Regions from separate parts of the Homo sapiens genome. Here region 2 is linked to region 1. Evidence: promoter capture Hi-C in 16 types of primary human blood cells and fetal thymus (Javierre and others, 2016). All regions are on one chromosome and are shown on one strand. The core of a region is centred on a gene start or on the middle of the fragment in contact, and the rest is flanking DNA. Distances in the headings are between cores, read along the strand shown.

Region 1 (3,917 bases), core at 716-3,215:
CTGATGGAGTGGCAATAAGGAAGAAGGCATCACTGCTCCAGGGATGTACCGTGACACTTATCTGAAGAAAGAAGAGAAAGAGCTAGCTAAAAAAAATAAATAAATAAATAAAAAATGAAGCCTTTAATCTGAGAGATCTTAAGCCATTTGGAGAGTTGGTTCATTTAAGAGAGATACCCAGAGTTAGCACCTTGTTGTAGCTTACTTGTTGTATCCCCACAAGCTCCTGAGGGGAGGAGAATAAAGCTTCAGGGAAGCTGAATGGTTTGTCCATAAAGCTGTCGAAGTCAGAACTAGAATTAGAAGTCTAGTTTTCTGCCTCCAAAGCTTGTATTTCTCTGACTGAACTATTGAATCTAAGCAAAAGTTGTCTGGTAGGTAACAGTCATAGTAAATGAAATATTGGCAAAGCAGTTAAATTAGCTCTAAAGATTAGTCCTAAACTTCTGTGATACTGAGGTTTTATTCTCTAATATAGGGAAAATTGACTGACATGGGGGCTTCCTCAAATATTTTTATACTCAGTATCCCTAGCACTTCTATTTTTTTTTGTCCTTTTCACAAGGACAAAATACAATATTATCAAGCCTTAATTCGTGCTTAAGGCTTGCCTGCAGTTGTATAGGTGGATTATAGCAGAGCTAGAATGATATATTAGGATTTCTTACTTCGAGTTCTTTATTTTTGAGACAAGTTCAATTAATCTAATTTTATTAATCAAATGTTCAAATCATTGAGAGTATTTGTAAAAGAAGTTAAAATTATAGCCCTGAGGTTCCCGTGCCCAGTCAACTGAAGATATCTGCTTCTCTACTGCTCATTATTCAGTATATAAGAATCAGTTAAAAATCCTGAGAAATAAGGGGGAGAAAGCAAATGTCAACCTTAAACACTCTGAATAATTTTTGAATGAAGCCATAGTAAAATTCACTGACATGAAGGAGACCTGAACTGTTATCTACAGAAAGTGCTCCTTAGAAAAGTTCTGTAAGCGTGCTGAAGAGTAGTACCAAAGTAAGAGAAAACACAGAATGTCCCTGGTGTTTTTGGTATAACACTATCAATTCTATAACTTATATAGGCATTAAAATTACCATAATTCATTCTCAAAAATGTTAAATTTTTAGAAGGAAAACTCATAAACAAATAATAATCACATTCCTAAACCTATAGAGTCTGTTATTCAAAGAAACAACATTTGAATTGTTAGAACTGAATTCACTGAGTGCACACTAAACCTGAAATAAAATTTTAAATTTCTTCTCCAACAGAGCTCAAATGTATGTTTCAGATTAACTCTCAATTCAATCATTGAATAGCAAGAGCACTACAAATACTGAAGAACAGGCATACTCTAAGTCTACTCCAACTATGTTATTAATATCATATTTGCATATTTGACATATAAGGAGAAAAACAGAAGATGCATTAGGTTTTAAGAACATAAGAGATAGAATTTCATTAGTTTAGGGATGTTTCTTAAGCTCCAGTTTTGATAGAAATAATGAGGAAAAAACCTTTCTTTTTTACCTAGGTTGTTTAGACCACTCTTTTATATTAAACATTTTTCTAATATTACACAATTTTGAGGAAAGCAAAATAACGCTAATAACATATATATGTATAGAATTATTATTTTGCATTCACTTTCTGTTTGTTTTGAAATGGAAGAGAAAAGCAATCTTATAAATATGAAATATCTGAATAAGCAATTAGTTCTACCTTAAGTTTGCATTACAAAAATATCTTTGATTTTCTACTCATTTTAGAGAGGGAAATATTACCACTCTAATTTTAACAAAATCAAGATATAATCAAAACATTTAAAGAGTCTGTGAAAGTAAAAATAATAGTTAAAAGAAGCATTAAATCTTTATCAATTTTTACATATAACTTACCTCGTGAAAGATCAGGAGATTCTAACTTTAGAGTACTGTCTCTGCAGTTTCTCCAAAACTCAGCCCTGGTGGTGAGTTTTCTCTCTGAGTTTTTATAGTCTCAGTTATACACCCCTTACTCCAATCCCTGCCTTTGCTTTCTCTTACATCATTTCTACAGATTTTCCACTGAACATTTTCCCAAGCCTCTCTTCGATCTCTTTCTCTCCCTCCCTCTCCCTTCCTTCTTCAGTTTCTCCCTCCCTCCTTTCCCTCCATATTTAGTCTATCTATTGCTTTGATCATGGCATTTAAATAACGATGGAAGTATAGGCTCTGGAAAATTTGAATATAGATTTAGTATTGTGTTCAGCTTCACACCCATCACCTCTTCCTGAGGTTTTAGTCAAGCTCTGATTATTACAAATCATATTTGGGAAATAAAATGCACTAAGATTTGTTAAAAAGTCACCAGGGAATTTCAATGTACGATATAGAGAGATTGTAATCAGACACAAACGGATTTATTGGTGTAATTTTTGGACCTTTAAATGATCAGCTATGGAAATAATGAGTACTTTCAGCCTCCGTCAGGTGCACAGTGCTGTGTCAGTGAAACACAATGACAGCTACTTCGTAATTAACATTGCTATACTGGGAAGGCTGTCACTAACAAACCTATAAATACTGAGCTGTGACATGTGAGCTATAAATGAAGACGTTGTAATCATTTTTGTCTTGCTCTTGTTCTTCAGTACTTTGATTTCTTTTTAACCAAAATATTTCTGCCTTTGGCTGAAGGTTTTCTTTCATTCTTATCTCCTACTAATTATATTTGCATCCTTACATACACAAATTATTTTTTAAATGAATTATTAAGTTATAAAGGTAACATGTTATGTTATTAGATCGTTAATGGCTCATTTGATTCACCAGAGGGTCCCCATCTGACAGGTAAAGAGGCCAAGGCTCAGATAAATTAAGTGACTTTATGAGATCACACACGTAAGAAGTAGTCGCAGAGCTGGATTTCAAATGCAGATCTTCCTAATTCCATATCCAGTTCTTTTCCCACGACTGCATTCTATCTCACTGCTTTAAAAGCTAGAAAAGAGAATCCAAACCAGATTATATTTTTGCACAAAAAGCAATAAATTTATTCTTTTTGGTTTCCCTAAAAAGGCCATTTAAAATACTAGTCACTAGTATAAGGACAATTACATGGTTAATTTGGATCTAGATGGGGAAACTGACCAGAGCACACAGAATTAGTGGGACAGTAAAATGCTTCATTTTTATGATGGGTTTCCAGGGATAACATATGTCTCAACAAGCTTGAAATTTGAGTAGTTGGCAGAGACAGTTCACAAATCAAGATAAAAATACAGCCTAATTGTGGACCCTTGTTTAGACATTACTGCCATAAAACAATTATGTTAGCTTGAATCCACATGATGGAAAACTCTCAATATAGAATTAATGGATGCATCATAATGCTACCAGAAGCCAATATTATTGGCATACCTTCTACCCTTATTTGAAATGCCGCTCTTAGCATGCCGACAAGTGATATCTGTGGCTGATTTATTCCAGATCTGTCCCTGCTTAGACAGTCCAAAGATTCCTCCCTATTTGTGGATTTTGTTGACCTAATTCAAAAGTTTGACTTAACTGTTCTGCAGCAGTTGAAATAGCAACAGTTTATTCCAGGAACATCCATGGTACATTTAAGCCATTTTTACAGCCTTCTGTATATTATACACCTCTATATGATTTACTTATGCATTTACACATGATAGAAAAATTCCATTACCTTCAAAAGAGAGAGGAAAAATGGGAACATGCAAAGAAATAAAAAGATAAAGAGAATAAATATTCAGTGTTGGATGGGGAGAGTCTAAGATGAGAAAGGGAGAAAATATTAATGAAAACTTTTTCAGCTAGCGTGTCATGATTTAATTCCCATAACAACCTTGCCAAGGAAGTATACTTTTTCAAATATAATGAATAGAAAACTAAAGCTCAAATCTGTAAAATGGG
Region 2 (3,917 bases), core at 470-2,969, 1.2 Mb before region 1:
CACAGCTTCATCAGTTCCTCACTTTCCTCACTTGCACAGCCCCTTCCAAGTTCTGGGAGGGGCTCCCGGAGGGTGTTCACATGTGTTTTGTTTTCTGGGTTTTTTTATTTGCAAAAGTGAGAATTTTTTTTCCACAATTGGTTAAGGTTGCTATCTTTTTCCACTCGGCCATTTGCTTTATCAGTTTTTCTCTGTTTAAGGGTGGTGGATTCGTCATTGCCAGTTTTGGCTCTGGCTAAGGAGAAGTTGAACTGGGGATACATTTAGCTTGGTTTTGGTAGGATTATCATTTATGTTTACAGTCACTTACTAGTAAATCATTGCCAGCCCTCCTGATGTCGAAATGGCCAGAAATACTGAAACTGCCCACTGTGCTGACTCAGTGTGGGGCATGGCACAAAAGTGCATGGCAAGAGATTGAATTGTGTTGTGAACATACCCCATGGGGAGGTGAAGTGTACAGGAATTAATCGTGGGAAATTCTCCCACGTTTCTTAGCTCATATGTGAAATATTTGAGAAATCAAGGAAACTGAGTTTGTTTTAAAATCAAATTTGATACTAGTCTAAATATTTACATGACGTTAGCAATAATGAGTGGTAAAGCTGAATTTAACAATTCTTAACTTTCACAATTAAAAATAAGTTAGTCACATTGGAGGTGAGACTGATCATCTGTTTTACAGAAAATATTGTTAACATTTATGTTACAGGATGAAAACATTTACAGACAAAAATTATAAAGAAAAGGTATTAAAGCTGTGTCTGAATTTTGTGATGTTAATTTTTCAAATGCGCAATTTGGTCTAAATTCTTTTTCTTATATTTAGTAAATATTTGCTTGGTAAGTAATTTGATATTTGTAAATTTGTATTATTTTCTTTAAGGAGAGTTTCCCAAGTTATATAAGCTTCAGGCCACACAAAACTTGTTTGTCCTTCTGCAGTTGACTATTTGTAGGAGGTGAAAGAAGACACTTTGGGCCTGTTTTCATCTAAAATGAGGATCAGGAGAAGATTACTCCCAAATATCTTTAAGGATCATTCTATATCTAAAGTACTGTGATTCTGTTTTCTCAGCACAATGACTGGGGTGCCAGGGTCCCTGGGGGTGCCCTCAAAGACAATGAATCTAAAAATGATGAATCAATGCCCTTTCTAGGAATTCCCTGGATAGAACATATGTGTGCGTTGGAGCGAGGGGGTGGGAGGAGATTGATGACAGCTGGATTCTCACGTTTGACGATCTGAAGGGTACCATTCCCTAGAAATTGTGTGGGAAATCAGATGATATGGTACCCTCAGGGAGTTCACCAATGCTACAGACCACCCCGACTCACTTCATTTAGGGAAGGTGTAATAGTTCTCTCATGCTGCATAACAAATTATTACTCAAAACAACACATGCTCATATCTCAGTTTCGGTGGGTCAGTAAACCGGACACAGCTTCACTGGGTCCTCTACTCAGGTTCTCACAAAACTGCCAAGTGTTTGCCGTGCTGTTGGTTCTCACATGGAGCTCAGATCCTCTTGCAAGTTCTTTCGGGCTGCTGGCAGAATTCAATTCCTTGTGTTTGCAAGACTGACATCCTTTCTTTTCTTTTCTTTCTTTCTTTCTTTCTTTTTTTTTTTTTTTTTTTTTTGCCAGATGTCAGCAATGCTCTCTCAGTTCCTACAGGACCTTGCCCCATGGCCCTTCCCACAGGCGGTTCACAACATGACAATTTCTCCTTTAAGGCCATTAGGACTCTCTCTCTGATCTGCTAAGGAGGGGTCTTACACAACACAATCCAGAGAGTGATATCTCATCATATTCATGGTCTCCTACTTATGTCGAAGGGGAGTGGATTATATAGGGTATGCATTTTAGGGGACGAGAATCTTGTTGTGTTTTTGGAATGTCTCTTATTCTTTAAGGTCTGGCCTTACCGTCATTCCTTCCATCATATGAATCAATACTCCCACAACACTTTGAACAAGATTGTATTTGGTTTATTCTGACCTGTAGTACACTTATTTATTAGGTTGTGTTACCTCCATTAGACTCTCAGCTACTTAAAGGCAAAAGTCATCATTCATTTTTGCATCTTTGTTAGTACTTAGGACAGCTCCTGGGACATAACTGGTGTCAGTAAACATTGAAAGATGGTGGTTGAAATAAGTCCCTTGAAGAATGGGAATTAAGAGGGAGATGCCACAGGTAAGCAGACCTGATCTATGTGGTGCTGCCGAGGTGAACGGTGATGGAATGCCTGGATAAAGGGCTGCCAGTGGGAACAGAAAAAAGACAACAAAGAGACATTGTGGAAACAGCATAGTGTACATGTGTATTGATATGTGTGTGCTGTGCTTGGGGTACATGAAGGAGAGGCTGTAGTCAGAGAGGATGCCCTGTGCTTCCTATTAAATGACCTGGTGAAGGTTAATGCTGTTATCCCAGCTGTTATCTGATAAGCAATGGGACAAGTTAGGCTGATTTGACATGTTGAGTTTAGTATTTCAACAACATTTCTAGATAATAGAAAGCTTACATAAGTCTAAGTCTAGATACAAGTCTATTATACACTTTATGATAATACAAGTCATCATTGGAGAAACGCTTGGTACTTGAGTTGGGCAACTTGACCTTCCAACCCTAGGATTCTGTGATTCTATCAGAATTGTTTTCTGTTGAGCAGGTTTTGTATTTTGAACTGATTTTCCACTTCTCCCTGTCATTTTTCATTACAGGAAGTAGAATAACAGTATAAAAAGAGTCTCTTGGTTTTCTTTAGTTTTCTAGTCACATTGGCAATAGAAATACAAGAATAAAGTGCTATATGCTTTTTAAATTCTCCTTCACACGTTTTCTTTTTAATACAGCTTTACCATCAGGGACTCCAGCTATTTTGTTTCTCCCCTTTAGCTAAGATCTAATCAGCTCCTTTCTATTTTGATTTCCAAGAAAATCAACCTGATACAAACTTTAAATGGAAAGGTTTCACCTACAACTGCTTACAGGTACCGCTGAAGTTTCTCTTTTCAGAACCCAGCTCCTGTGTAAGTAGGGCGAGCTTATCTCTGGGATTCATTGTGGGTGGTAAAGGCCGTTTTTGCCTTTGTTAGAGTGATCCAAGTAATTTCTCCATTCAGATCTCATTTATGTTGGAGTTCTCAAGATAACTCATATCATCTGTTCCTTCATTCCTTTGGCTTACAGGATATCTTCAAAATAATATCTGGTGCTTGGAGAAAGTGGGTGGACTCCATTGTGACTTGAGGTTAACATGAAAACCTCAGGTATCTCTTGAAATAGAGAAGTGTTCAGTGGAATTTAAAAACTGTTGATATTGAGCATAGACCCAATTGTTTGAAAAACTCAAAGGTTGAGAAATTCCAATAACAATTATGCTCCCAATACACTGGTTATAGTACAGAAGCAGGTTGTTGTATTCCGTATCAACAGGAGTCATGTCTTTCCTTACCTGTGGTCACTAAGACCCACCCAAGACTACCCTCTTCATGGTGGCGAAATGCCTTCCCTCATTCCCCCTTTCACCCTAGGGCCAAACTCATTACTTCAGGCATAATAGGACCCCAATAAATGAATTGAATGTCTTCTAGCCAACTTGATTATTACTTTGAGAAATATTTGTACATTGTGTGGTAACTATTTAGAGAGTGGTAATCAAAACCTAAATGGCAGGGGTGAGGTTGAAATAATTGCAGGCATTTTGTTTCAAAGAAGATCCAGTTCTTTATTTTTCATTGAGATAAAACAGATAAACTTTACCATCTTTACTATTTTTAAGTGTACAGTTTAGTAATATTAAGTACACCGCTGTGCAATGGATCTCCAAAACTTTTTCATCTTGCAGAACCGAAACTATACCCACCGAACAGCTATTCCCCATTTTCCCCTTATCCAGCTCCTGGAAA

The links. Contacts are between HindIII fragments. The CHiCAGO score rates a contact against its expected background, and 5 or more counts as called.
Region 2: a fragment that was not itself captured here is called in contact with the fragment with the promoter of OSTN in region 1 in 1 of 17 cell types (endothelial precursors); the score reaches 6.0 in endothelial precursors.

What each region holds. Positions count from the first base shown.
Region 1 is chr3:191,197,289-191,201,205 of GRCh38, reverse strand. OSTN (osteocrin) reads right to left here and starts at 1,965. Exons shown (of 5, transcript NM_198184.2): 1 at 1,899-1,965. The HindIII fragment of the contact is 2,884 bases long and covers 330-3,213 here.
Region 2 is chr3:192,430,346-192,434,262 of GRCh38, reverse strand. The region is part of intron 2 of FGF12 (fibroblast growth factor 12); the gene reads left to right. Among named protein-coding and RNA genes, the nearest start is that of FGF12-AS2, 83 kb to the left of the region's middle. The HindIII fragment of the contact is 1,616 bases long and covers 912-2,527 here.